Linked DNA regions of Homo sapiens: all the other regions are linked to region 3. Evidence: promoter capture Hi-C in human tissues and cell types (Jung and others, 2019). All regions are on one chromosome and are shown on one strand. Each heading gives the region's core, a stretch centred on a gene start or on the middle of the fragment in contact. The rest is flanking DNA. Distances are from core to core; before and after follow the strand shown.

Region 1 (4,682 bases), core at 1,492-3,991, 460 kb before region 3:
GTCCTGGGATTACAGGCGTGAGCCACTGCGCCTGGCCCAATTATATGGGAATTGTTTATATAATTATCACCCTATAAGCAAAATTCATGGAGGAGGAAAAGCTCTACTGAAGAAAGCTGATACCGGCATTCCCATGAAAGTATCTGTGTAGAAGTAAGTATTAAAATCAGTTGAATAGGCAAGGCATGGTGGCTCACGCCTATAATCCCAGCACTTTGGGAGACCGAGGCAGGTGGATCACAAGGTAAGGAGTTCAAGATCAGCCTGCCCAAGATGGTGAAACCCCTTCTCTACTAAAAATACAAAGAATTAGCTGGGCGTGGTGGTGGGTGCCTGTAATCGCAGCTATTCGGGAGGCTGAGGCAGAGAATTGCTTGAACCTGGGAGGTGAAGGTTGCAGTGAGCCGAGATCACGCCACTGCACTCCAGCCTGGGCGACAGAGTGAAACTCCATCTCAAAACAAAACAAAACAAAACAAAACAAAAAAACAGTTGAATAAAGTACCTTAGAGTCATCTGTTCAATTAACATGTTTAACTCCAAAGAAATACTGAAAATATTTTCCAAAAAGGAAGTGCCATTTTACGTTCCTACCAACAGTGAATAAGATTTTCTTTTCTGGAGCCTTGTCAGTATTCACTAATGCTTTGCTGTGCAGCCGTTGTAATATTATAGTAAATGAGTAGCAGTATTTAATGGTTGTTTTAAATATACATATTCTTAATACAAAGTCTTGATGAACACTTTTTTATACATTGTTTTATGAGGTGTGTGTTCAGATCTATGTATGCCAGAAATGCCTGGCAGCGTTAATTTAAGCACACTGTAAGAATGACCCTATAGTTTATGAAGAATGTATGTTCAGAGCTCTGAGCTAAGAAATCCAGGAGCTGTCAACCCAGAAGTTTATTCCTTGTCTGTGAAGGACATCTGAATCCCTGGCCTATCCCTTGGAACACAGGATGTCCAGGTGATTGATGCTCTTTGTTAAATCTGGAGGTTGCTAGGTAGAGGGTGCTAAGTGAAAATCATAATATAAACTACATGTGTTTTACAAATGGTAGTGGTTTTCCTGTCCAACACACTTTTCCTGGGCCACATTGTATGCAAGTCCTCAATACACCCTAGGTCTTGTTCATGGGCTCCAGGTCTCCTCTTCAGCCTTTTGGACATGGTGCCACGCCTATTACAGTCAATAGGGGTCTAGCATGACAACTGGTAGGCCCAGAACAAGGTCAAAGAAAATCCTGCAAGCTCTTAGACAACAGCGTCAAGGAAGGGGAGACCTGTGAGGAAATCCCAGGCAGGCCATGCACATCTCTGTGGGCCCAACAGCTGCAATCCTTGATGGATGGGGCCCGCTGCATGTGTACGGGGATGCCTCCAAAATGCCAAAAGTTCTGGAGGACCTGTTGCCTGAGGTGGATGTGACAATGTGACAAAGTGACAGTCAGATTCCTGAGCTGTGGCAGCTGTTGGCCACTCCTGACTGCACTCTGAGCAACCACTGAGGCAGAGCTCATTGCACAGGCTAGGGTGTGTCAGCCACGAGAACAGTTGTAACTATAATGAGATGCCGCCTGTAGGGATAGGATAGCAAATTGGAGACTATTGTTTATTTGGTAGGCCATTTAAAGTGTTGCTGACTGCCACACCAATGCATTAGGACTACTATGACTACGTCATCCTGGGAGCCTAAGTCCTGGCGTCCGATGTAGAGCTCCAGTGGGAAGGAGATGAAGGTTAGGATGAGTCCATAAAGGTTCTTGCTCTGCAGCCCCTGCTTTGCTGTCTCACTTGGTGAACAGAGGATGGGAGGTCAATGCGGACAAAGTCCAGGGTCCAGGCTTATCAGTCAAATACTTGGTGTCATCTGGTTACATAAGACTATAGTTATTCCATATTTCATCATAGATAAGATAAGATGCAGGTCTACTCATGTCCCACCACACCAAAGCAGTTGGAAACCTCCCAAGGCCTCCTGGGACATTGGCGATCCTTTATTCCCCATTTCGGCAAACCCCTTGGGCCCCCATGGCACTTAGACAAGAAGGTGCCCCACTGCGACTGTTCCAAAAGGGAGGATGAGGGCTCTGAAGAAGCTGAAGTCACAGTGAAATGAATACAAACCTTGGGAGTTCTAGTGCAGGGACAGCCCTGTGAATTGGATGTAGTCAGTTACCCTGAGGGGTTTAGGTGGGGACTGTGTTAAAGGCAAGGACATAAGTGTGTGTCCCTAAGACCCTGGTCTCAAAGACAGAAGGAAGCTGAAGTGAGATATACTGTTTAGGAGTAGCAACTGCACTACATGTCATGCCTTACGAGTGTAGGATGTGACAAAGAGGGCCACTCCACATCCGGAACAACCTTTAGCAGGCTGGCTAAAGGATGCCTTCCAGACACAAAAGCCTTGGAATGCCAGGACACAGTCTGTAGCCAAATGGTACTTGTGGTGGTCACCACCAACATAAAAGTGGGCCAACTGTGCCAGCAGAAGTTAGCCCCACAGAACTTTCCCCCACCTAAGAGAAGGCAGTGCACCACAATGCGGAATTCCACCACTGTGGAATTGGGGGAGCTTAGAATTGGATTCAGACACAAGGGGAGAGAGTGGATCACAGGGTGGCTTCTCTATGGGATAGGGGGTGGAGAGTATTATACTCTCTGGACTCAAGATGAGTAAAATGACACCCATCACAAACCATCCAGCCCTATGATGGCACCTTTATGGTAAGTGGTTGCAGGCTCCAAGGGGGCCGGGTCCAATGAGGAAGATGCCCCCACAGCTCGTTCTCAATGGCAGACTATAGAAGAGTTGCAGGATATCTTCTGGGAGTCGAGATGAGGCATGCTAATTATGCTGAGAATTATTGAAGTCCCAACAATGAATTGTTTACTGCAAAATAAAAGCTACAGTTATGTATTCAGTGCCTACCCAATGGCATGGTGCACTGATTTCCATGTTAAGCCCCCTGGGAGGGCAGCCAACATTTCATGTGCCCCAGGTAGTTGCTGACTTAGGAGAAAAGAAGAAACTGAGTAAGCAAGGGATGCACCCTACTGTGATGAAGAACAATGGCACCAAAGGAAGAGAGACAGCCAAGGAGCCAGTCAGGGTGGCCAGACAACGAATGTGCTCTAACTGGCAACACCTACCAGTTCTCTGGGCCCATAGCGGCAATAGGTGGTTATGGAAGGGCCACGGAAGTCAGACCGGTTGAACTAGTGATACGACCTGGGGGACTGCCACCCAGACCCTGTGTAGTATACACAGCTTCCATCCTAGAACACATGAGAATGGATATCTTCTTAGGCGTGACCCTCCAAACAACGGCCAGGGAATTCCAACGGAGAGTTAGAGTGGTGATGTGTGTGACCAAGCAGAAGGCAAACTGGATGCCAGTAGAGCTGCCAACCCATGGGGAGTCCCACAGCTGGAGCAACACCACCTGCCCTGGGAGGGGAAGATGATCCAATCATGAAGATTGTTAAGGAGCTAGCCCAGGTAGGCATTAGGAGGCCACTGCATGGTTCCTACAACAGACCTGCATGGCCCATGCAGAGGCCAGTTGAGACATGGAGAATGACAGTAGATTACTGGGAGTTAAATAAGGTGGTCTCCCGAGTGAATGCAGCTGTTCCTAATATCTCCTCCAGTCTGACGAGAATAGGAGAGGTGTTAGCCACGTAGCATTTCCTTATCAGTTTAGTCAATACCTTCTTCAGCATTTCTGTTGCCCCAGAGTCAAGATCAATTTGCATTAACCTAAAAAGAACAATGGACTTTTACTGTCTTGTTCCAGGGATATTTACACAGCCCAAATCTCACAGCCTAGTGACCTCCAACCTCAGTCGATGGGCTGACCCAAAGGGGATACATGTTTTCCACTACATTGGTGTTATCATGATAACCTCTGAGTCTTTTTTCAGCTTATAAATTACAGCCCCTGTCTTGCTGTCTCACTTGCTGAATAGAGGATGGGAGGTTAATACAGACAAAATCCAGGGTCCAGGCTTATCAGTCAAATAGTTGGTGTCATCTGGTTGGGTAAAACTAAAGTCATTCCATCTGCCATCATAGATAAGGTGCAGGCCTACCCACGTCCCACCACAACAAAGCAGCTGCAAACTCTCAAGGCCTTCTGGAGCATCAGTGTCCTTTTATTCCTTTTATTTGACATCCCTGAAGGAGGCTGCTAGGGGAGACTGTGTCCCTCCTAAATTCATGTGCTGAAGTCCCAACCCTTGGTCCTTCAGAATGAAATCATACTTGGATTAGTGTCCTTTAAAGAGGTGAATAAGTTAAAGTGAGATTCCTGGAGTGGGGCCCTAATGCAATCTGACTGTTGTTATAAGAAGAGGAAGCAGGAGGGAGGGTGCACAGGCCCCGAGGGACGGCCATGTTACCACAGAACAGTGAGAAGGCGCCATCTGCATGCCAGGGAGCGAGACCTCAGAGGAAACCCACCCAGCTGGCAGCTTGATCTTAGGCTTTCATCCTCCATAAGTGTGAGGAAATTGGTTTTGTATTGTAAGCCATCCGATCTGTGGTATTTCGTTATAAAAGCCCTATAAAATGAATACAGTAGGTAATAGGAGAGCTTCTATACATTGAAAAAGTCGGATGGCCAGAAAAACCTAGACACTCCTGTTCAGACCTGAGCAGGGTGATGGACCTGCTT
Region 2 (4,513 bases), core at 1,215-3,714, 310 kb before region 3:
AAAGGGGCTCAGCAAGGACCCAGGTATTGGTCGGACCTCCTGTTATCATCTGCTGTGGGCTGAACATTTGTGTCCTCCTGAAATTCATACATTCGTATATTCATACCTTTCCCCCTGAAATCCTAACCTCCAATGTAATGGTATTAGAAGATGGGGCTTTTGGGGGTGCTGAGGTCATAAAAGGGGGGCCCTCATGAAGAGGATTAGCACCCTTATGAGAGGGGCCCCAGAGAGCTCCCTCACCCTTTCTCCCCTGTGAGGAGATGCCGTCTATGAGCTGGGATGCAGGCCTCACCAGACACCCATCGGCTGGAGCCTTGGTCTGGGACATTCAGCCTCCAGAATGGTGGGAAATAAGTTTCTGTTGTTTCTCAGCCACCACGTCTGTAGTATGTGGAAGTCATCAGAATCAAAATTGAGTCACCTGTGGTTTTTTTTTTTTCTAAATCCCTGACAAATAGAGCCTAGGAAGGCCAAGAAGAGAAGAGGGTTCTCATCCATAAACACTTGATAACAAAAACTATCACCAAGGACTCTACAAAAACTGCAACTGGCACAAAGACCATCACAACCTTACACAGAAAGTACTTCTGTGAGGACATCTTCCCAGCAACGGGCTGTCCAACCTCAGACTGGCATTGCCTTTGTTATTGGTCCTTGTAGAGAGGGTAATTATCTCAAAGCAATCATGTAATCCTCCTCATTTTTCCTTTGAAAGCCTTGGTCTCCCTTTGCCTCCCTGAATACGCACATAGCTGATCATGGCAGGTGTATCCCACTGCAGTGCTCTACCTCCAAATAGATATCTTTTTCTTTTAGACGGCATTTCTCTTGTTATTTAGATTGAGATACATGGAGTCAGAAGTGGGATGTGGAGAAGGATCACTGCTGGAAGGAGTCAGTAATTCTTGGGCCGGTGTGCAGTATTCACTTGAGCCCTTTGAGCTCTCAGCTTTTTCTGAGCTACTCCGTCTTCTCTCAGGCCAACCCTCCCTCTTTTTGGAAGATGCTTTTTTAATATTATGTGGGGTTTGTTTATTAGACTGCCTTAATAAAGGACCTTATGTCCCTCCTGGGATGATAAAAGGCTTTTCGTGCTTTCTGGCAAGTCCTGTTTAGCATAAAGACATTCCAGCCTGAGTACTCTGGTTTCCACAGAGTTTGCATTCTGTCTCTGAGGGATGTCTTCTCTGGTGAGGTGCCTCCTTTAATACTTTGTTGGATATGCATGCCTGGGTGAACATATTTGTGAGCACCCTTATCTTGCCTTCTTTTGCTGTGGTTATGTGTATCTGTAAATGACCTGGCTCTTTTCCTCTGCTTGCTTCTAAAAATCTTTGGAGAGCAAAATAAACATTCTAAATGGTGGGCACAGGCTGTCTCATTAGAAGCTGCTACAGCAGTCACCACCGTCTAAAGCACCAGTCCAAACTGCCGGCGTGGCCTCATAGTATCTGTAGAATGTTCTTTACTGTAAAAAGATTAATAAGAAGGGGAATGGTTTTTAAATATTAAGGCACAGTAAGTTTTCTGGAACTCCCGCTGGCTACGTCTTTGTGCACATTTTTAAACTAATGGGCAAATTACGTCAAGGAAAATTTAGAGTTCCAATGGTTATTTTTCGAACTCTAACAAAAACCCTGCAACAGTAGTCATCATGCAGTGCCTCCTAAGTCCTCTATCTCTCTATTTTGTTTTTCTGCCTACTTTAAATCTGCTGACTTTTTTACTCATGTTGCAATAAAACTCACTGGTTACAGCATTCCAGCCAAGATATTTTTGGTTTTTTGTTTGTTTGTTTTTTGTTTTTTGTTTTTTTAGATGGAGTCTCACTCTGTCACCCAGGCTGGAATGCAGTGGCGCTATCTTGGGTCGCTGCAACCTCTGCCTCTCGGGTTCAAGTGATTCTCCTGCCTCAGCCTCCTGAGTAGCTGATTACAGGTGCCCGCCACCATGCCCAGCTAATTTTTGTATTTTAGTAGAGACAGGCTTTCACTGTGTTGGCCAAGCTCGTCTTGAACTCCTGACCTCAAGTGATCCACCTGCCTTGGCCTCCCAAAGTGCTAAAACTATAGGCGTGTGCCACCGTGCCTGGCCCAAGATTTTTTAAAGTTTCCTAAAGGTTTTAAATTAGTGGCTTTACAAATTACAACAGCTCTATGGTAACCAATGACCTAGATGTAAGAGTCATTTCTTTTGAAAATGTAGATTAGCTTTGCTTGGCTAACAACTGCTTAGGCTGATGGAATAGCTAACTGAAGGACTGATGGTCTCAAAGAACAGAACTAGGTAAATATTTACAGAAATTGGGCTTTCAGATCGAACAGGCCAAAATCTTGAGCTTAGAGCAGTAATATAAGGTATCTCTGTCTGCCATAAAAATTTTGCTTTGCCACAGGTGCCAGAAAAAGGAAAAACACTGCTAAATGCTTCCCTGCATGCATTGTCTAGTCCAGAAAATCAGACCAGCAACCAAAAAATAGATTTGTTACTAGTATAGACGAGTTGAAGATTTTGTTTTTCATATACAATTCAGCCAGTCCTAGCTAAAACGCAATCACTGGAAATTTAACCTTAAATTCATTTAAAACTGAAAAAGGTCTTTTGAAATCAAACTAATGCAGAAACTGCTTTACCCAAAATTCTGATCCATGGCCCTCATTAGACGACCCATCAGGACAAATAAAGTTTAGCTTGTGAACAAGTCCCAGTTTTGTCAAAAATATAATTTGGATTGAAGTGTCTTTTAGAAACTGACACATTTGTGTTATTATCTCATGACCAAAATTCTAAAATGAAAGCTACAGTGTCTTTATTTGTGTGCGTATGTGGTTAATTGTGTTTATGCATATGTATGTGTATTATGTTGTATGTTGTTATCTACATGGTAAAATCTGGCATCATCAACAAAAAATCTATTAAGGGATTCTATTTAGATTGGCTTAGATAAATAAGCATTCATAAAAAATATGTACTAATTAACCCAAATGCCTTTTAGTTCATGTGACTTAAGTATATCTTTAATAAACAAATCAGTTTTAAAATTGTTGGTAAAATAAAAATACAAATGTTCTCAGAATTGTCAGCATATATTTTTCCCTGAGTTTACTCGTCAGACAGCTTTATATTTGTCTCTGATAGATGTTTTAAGATGTCAGGGTTTGACACAAAGATGATAAAACTATAAACCCATCCTAAAACAGAATAATCTTTGTATGATCTTTGATAAATAAGACTAATTTGGCTGAGTGCGGTGGTTCATGCCTGTAATTCCAGCACTTTGGGAGGCCAAGGTGGGCAGATGACTAGAGGTCAGGACTTTGAGACCAGCCTGGCCAACACAGCAAAACCCCATCCCTACTAAAAGTACAAAATTAGCCAGGTGTGGTGGTGGGCATAATCCCAGCTACTTGGGAGCCTGAGGCAGGAAAGTCACTGGAACCCGGGAGGCAGAGGTTGCAATGAGCCAAGAGAGCGCCACTGCACTCCAGCCTAGGCAACAGCGAGACTCCATCTCAAAAAAAAAAAAAAAGGCTAATTTAATATTGCAGGCTTAATAAAAACAGCTGTATCTTATGAGCTATCGACAAAATACCCATACACTTCACTAAGTTTCTTACTAAGTGAACATCTAATAATCACAGGCTATAAAAATGGTTAAAAGGGAAATAACTTTAAGTAATGGCTAGCTTTGTCTAATATCTCAATTTTCATAAGTAATCTAGGTAAATTATTAAAAATAAATTAATTAAGCCTGGTGTCATGGCACACGCCTATAGTCCTAGCTACTCAGGAGGCTGAGGTGGGAGGATTGCTTGAGCCCGGAAGTTCAGACCACCCTGAGCGATGCAACAAGACCCCCATCACTAAAATAAATAAATAAATAAGATAAATGTCAAGAAAATAAATGTTTATAAATAAGCTTCTTATGTAATTTAAGATCTTAAAATTATGTTATCTTCAGTTAAATAATAGATACTCATTAAATGTCTGGGTCATTTCCAAATAAGATTTTTAAAACTAACACAAATTACTGAACATAAATGTTTGTTCTTGGCTTCTTAAATTTTATAGAAATTTTGTAGAAAGACTAAATTTATTTGGGTCTATTAATATATGTAAAAATTATGTCATAGAAATATGTTTTCAAAAATTATAAAATTTTTCTCATCTATAAAATAGTGATATGTGACAAATGGTTAAAATTTGCTTGCTAGAAAATAAGGTTACTAAGAGTTAAAATTCTAATTAATATATATAATTCTGTCTACAAAGTATACCACAAAAAATAAGATGTGTTTTTCATTTTTAAAAACTATAAGACAGGCATTTATAATTTATTTTACTGCAAAAAAAAATTTATCTAATTTGGAGTTTGTTTAAAGGTTGTTTCAAAGCACAGATTTAGGAAAAAAGTAAAAACAAGATGGAAAAGAACCACTCTCATCTGCCCCCACGTAAGACGTACCTGCTCCCCTTCCACCACGACTGTGTTTCCCAAGGCCTCTCCAGC
Region 3 (4,526 bases), core at 549-3,048:
GACCCCACGCCCGCGCTGCTGGCCTCAGGCCGTTTCCGCGGAGTTCCGGGAATACCCTCTCCCCGCCGCCGCACTGGGCAGGGAGGCGGGCCTGCCCCTCCGCTCTTGGAGTACCCAAGGAGGCCTCGGCCCTCCCAGGCTTTCTGATCCCGGACCGAGAGCCACCCAGGTCCCGATGCATCCGTCCCACAAGCCTCTCCGAGCCTCCCCGCCCCTGCCCGGCAGCCCCCACGCCCCTCCTCCCTGCACGGGCAGGCTCGGTCTCCCCTCCTGTCCACCATCCTGGGCGCGTGGCCACTGCCTGCCCTGCTCCCCATGGCTCCGCATTGCCTTGGCGAGGTGTTGTCCCCCACCCTCTGCCCCGGCAGAGCCACCCTGCTTTGCTCCTCTGCGCCAGGGCGATGCCTGTGGCTGCCCTCGAATCTCGGGAAGCCCGTCCACCAAGGCCCGTCGGGCTTCCACAGGCCCCTGCACCTCTGTCACACACCTGGCACTGGTCCTCATGGCCGTGCTGTCGGAGTCCCCGCACCTGGGCCTGTGCACACCTGGGTGACAATGGAGGCCCGCACACCCGCACCCACCCCAAAGTCACTGACAGGCTTACTCCCAGCCAGCCCCTCACCCCCTCCACAGCCCCAGGCCTGGGGCTCCGTTTACTGCCGTGTCTAGACAAAGGCATAAAATTTAATGTCCCCGTGACAGTCGGGCGCTCGGACTGCCCTGGTGACACCGCAGGCCCCACCGATCCGGGAAAGCGTTGAACTCTGCACTCCCACCCCTGCCCCCACCCAGCACCCGCCGCCCAGGATCCCCACAGCCACACACAGGACACCCCCACCCCTCGGAGCTCTGACAGGTCGCGAGGAGGGTGCCTTGAGGGTCCTCAGCCCATGCCCCTGCCTCCAAGCCTCCCCGCGCTCTGGGTCCCACCGGGACACTCACCCGGTTTTCACGTCCACTGGATCTACACGTCTGACCCAGGAAGCCCTCTCTGGGCCCATTCCAGGCCCACCTGGGCCTCCCCTAGCTGCAGCCGCAGCCTGAGAATTTCCTCCCTCTCCGCGCGTGGCGGGGCCAAATAAATAGCGGGGGAGCCACGGCGCCGCTCACCCTTTCCGGCCGTGCCTCCAGCCCCTCCGCCCCACTACGCTGTCGCTCGATCCTCAGTCACTTGGCAGATGCGGGCCGAGGGGCTCTGCGCTGGCGAAGGGACGGACTCCAGCCCCTAGCGGAGCCCCTACCCCGGCAAGCCAGAGCCCGGCCCGGCCACCTCTCCGTAGGGACCTGGCCCCAGGCCCACCTGTCCTGGGTCTCCTGGGCCCCGGCCGAGGCCCCTCCTCCCCCCACGCCCCGCGGCTCAGACCTGGCACAGACTCTGGGGCCTCCAGGCCCTTCACTGCCCGGGCCCCGCAAGGACCCTCGCCCCATAACCACCCCTCGGAGCCCCCGGGAGGAGGGGCGGGAGGGGGCTGCTGTGCTCCCGCCGCGGGCCGGTGCAGAGCTTGGGCCGCTCCCAGCAGGCTGCGTCTCTGCTTGTCCCCCCGAGGCTTCCCCACGCAGGGCCGGGTCCCCGTCACCCCGCCGGCCCCAGGCCTCACCCCTGCCGCATCGGCCCCCGCCCCACCCCACAGTCCCCACGGCCCAGAGGTGCAGGGTCGCCCAGGCCCGCCGCCCCCTCCGCGGACGCAGCCGCGCACCCAGCCAGTCCCGCCCGCGCCCGCGCCTACCCCGCCGCCCGCAGATGCTGCGCCGCTCCCGGGCCCGCCCGCCCAGCCTCTGCCGCCACTGCCGGGGCCGCGCCGGCTCCTCCCGCCGCGCCCCTCCCCCGCCCGCGCGGCACCGCCCCCGACCCAGAGGCCCCGCCCCGCGCCCCTCGGCCCGCGAGCCCCGCCGGACCTGGGGACCTGGGAGCGCGGGGGTGCCGGTGCCCCGCCCCCTCCGCAGCGCCGGTTGCCACGGCGACAGCACCGCGCGGCGGCGCGCAGGACTGGTGGCTCTGGGGAGCGGGGCGCCCTCGCGCACCCCCAGGCGCGGAGTCCCGTCTCCACCCTCCTCACCCACCGCCCAGAATCCCAGGGTCCCGCCCAGTGCCCCCCGCGCCCTGAAACTCCGCTGCCGCCCCCTAGAGCGACCCCACTCAGCCGGACAGGCGCCCACCGGCCCAGGAGCTGACAGGGATGTAGGCGCGGGGCTGGCCTGGCCGCCGGGGCCCTCCGCGCCACCCTCTGTCCTCTTTGGGGAGAAACCCAGCCTTCCCAGGTTTCTTCTCAGGGCAGAGGAAAGGAATGATGAGCGGCCCCCACCTTCTTCTCCAGCCCGTCCAGGAGGCAAGCTAGGGTTTGGGGACTTGGGCTTCATTTTGTCACTGAGGTGGCACTAAGCCCCTCCCCCCACATCCTGTCCATCCCGTGTGAGCCAGAGAAGAACCCGAGGGCACCTTCTGCCTGCCTGCCCTCCTTCCCAGAACTGCTGTGACTTCCCTCTGACATAGGAGGAGACTGAGGGTCAGAGAGGTAAAGGGACACCAGATTTGGTGGAAAGACCAGAATTTGAGGCACCACCCAACTGGTAGTGAACTTCCAGATTCTCTTCCCGTATCCCCGGGCCTGGACTCAACACGGCCTGAAAGCCAGAAGAGGACAGAGAGCTCCAGAAGTTCTCTAGTCCTGGCACAAGGGGAGGAAAGAAAAAGGTCGCCTAATGCTCCCAGGGTGCAGGAGAATGCCCGGGGGGATGTTAGGGTTTGGGAGGATGGGGTTTTTTGGTAGTGGTTGTTTTTTTACTCTTCTCCATTCTCTGATGCCCCAGCCCCTAGGTATCCCACCAAAGCCATGACCAAGGCATAGGGTTTACAAGCACCTAAAACGCTGAGGCAGAAGAGCCTTCCTTTCCAGCCCCAGGAGATGTGGTCCCCTGTCGCTGGAGAGATGGTGGGCAGGGAGAAGCAGTAGAAAGCAATCCATGGGCTGGGCGTGGTGGCTCACACCTGTAATTCCAGCACTTTGGGAGGCCGATGTGGGCGGATTACCTGAGGTCGGGAGTTCGAGACCAGCCTGGCCAACATGGTGAAACCCCCATCTCTACTAAAAATATAAAAATTAGCCGGGCGTGGTGGCACACACCTGTAATCCCAGCTACTCGGGAGGCTGAAGCAGGAGAATTGCTTGAGTCCGGGAGATGGAGGTTGCAGTGAGCCGAGATCTTGCCACTGCACTCCAGCCTGGGCAACAGAGTGAGACTCTGTCTCAAAAAAAAAAAAAAAAAAAAAGCAACCCCAGGAAGTTGTGCAAGCCATACATGATGTACAAGTCTAAACCCTCATTCACATCCCAAAGGCTGAGAACTGAACAAAAGGACAGCCCACTGCCCACGTCCCACACTGGCCACTGGGCAGTGCATACGAAGGACAGATCTGAGTCCCACTGCAAAGGCTTTGAAAACAAAACCGACATGGAAGGCAGGACCCACAGGAGCCTATTTGAACTTGTGGCCTGAAACCAACTAGGTTGATTGCATGATAAAACAAAATGCCAACATTCTCAATGGGATTTAAATAAGACCAGTCTCATAACATAATGTCTAAATGTGCAGGAGACAATCTAAAATTACTCTGCATGTGAAGAATCAGGAAATCCAACCTGCAAGAGAAAAGACAATCAACAGCCGCCAATGCCAACATGACACAAAAACCCTCAACTAATTATCAGCAAATAGAATCAAGCAGCATTAAAAACACACACACACAAATACCCCAACCAAATGGAGGCTATCCCAGAAAGGCAAGGCTGGTTCAACATGTGAAAATAAATCGATGTGATCCACCATATTAGTCTCAAGAAGAAAACCATGTGATCATCTCAATCAATTCAAAGAAAGTATTTGACGGAATTCAACACTCATCCCTGATAAACACTCTCAGCAAACTAGAAAGCAAAGGGAACATGCTTAATCTCATAAAAGGAATCTACAAAAAGCAACAACAAAAACAACAGGCCAGGCATGGTGGCTCACCCCTGCAATCTCAACATTTTGGGAGGCCAGGAGTTCAAGACCAGCCCGGGCAACATGGAGAGATTCCATATCTGTTATTTTTAATTAAAAAAAAAATTAGGCCAGGCACTGTGGCTCATGCCTCTAATACCAGCATTTTGGGAGGCCAAAGTGGGCGGATTGCTTGAGCTTGAGTTCAAGACCAGCCTGGGAAACATGGTGAAACCCTGTCTCTACAAAAAATACAAAACAATCTGGCCGGATGTGGTGGCTCACGCCTGTAATCCCAGCACTTTGGGAGGCCAAGGCAGGCAGATCACCTGAGCTCAGGAGTTCTATGCCAGCCTGGGCAACATGGCGAAACACCATCTCTACTTAAAACACACACACACACACACACACATTAGCAGGGTACAGTGACACACACCTGTAATCCCAGCTACTCAGGAGGCTGAGGCATGAGAATCGCTTGAACTTGGGAGGCAGAGGTTGCAGTGAACTAAGATCGCACCACTGCACTCCAGTGTGGGCAACAG

Evidence for each region. Contacts are between HindIII fragments. The study calls those that stand out against the background at their distance.
Region 1: a fragment that was not itself captured here is called in contact with the fragment with the promoter of TMEM121 in region 3 in 1 of the 25 tissues and cell types used here (lymphoblastoid cells).
Region 2: a contact is called between a fragment that was not itself captured here and the fragment with the promoter of TMEM121 in region 3, in 1 of the 25 tissues and cell types used here (H1 embryonic stem cells).

What each region holds. Positions count from the first base shown.
Region 1 is chr14:105,981,439-105,986,120 of GRCh38, reverse strand. It overlaps IGH. Among named protein-coding and RNA genes, the nearest start is that of FAM30A, 66 kb to the right of the region's middle. The HindIII fragment of the contact is 7,810 bases long and covers 1-4,682 here.
Region 2 is chr14:105,831,556-105,836,068 of GRCh38, reverse strand. It overlaps IGH. Among named protein-coding and RNA genes, the nearest start is that of MIR4539, 24 kb to the left of the region's middle. The HindIII fragment of the contact is 5,609 bases long and covers 1-4,513 here.
Region 3 is chr14:105,523,855-105,528,380 of GRCh38, reverse strand. It overlaps TMEM121 (transmembrane protein 121), which reads right to left and starts at 1,798. Exons shown (of 2, transcript NM_025268.4): 1 at 1,728-1,798. RefSeq lists a silencer at 1-140. The HindIII fragment of the contact is 20,488 bases long and covers 1-4,526 here.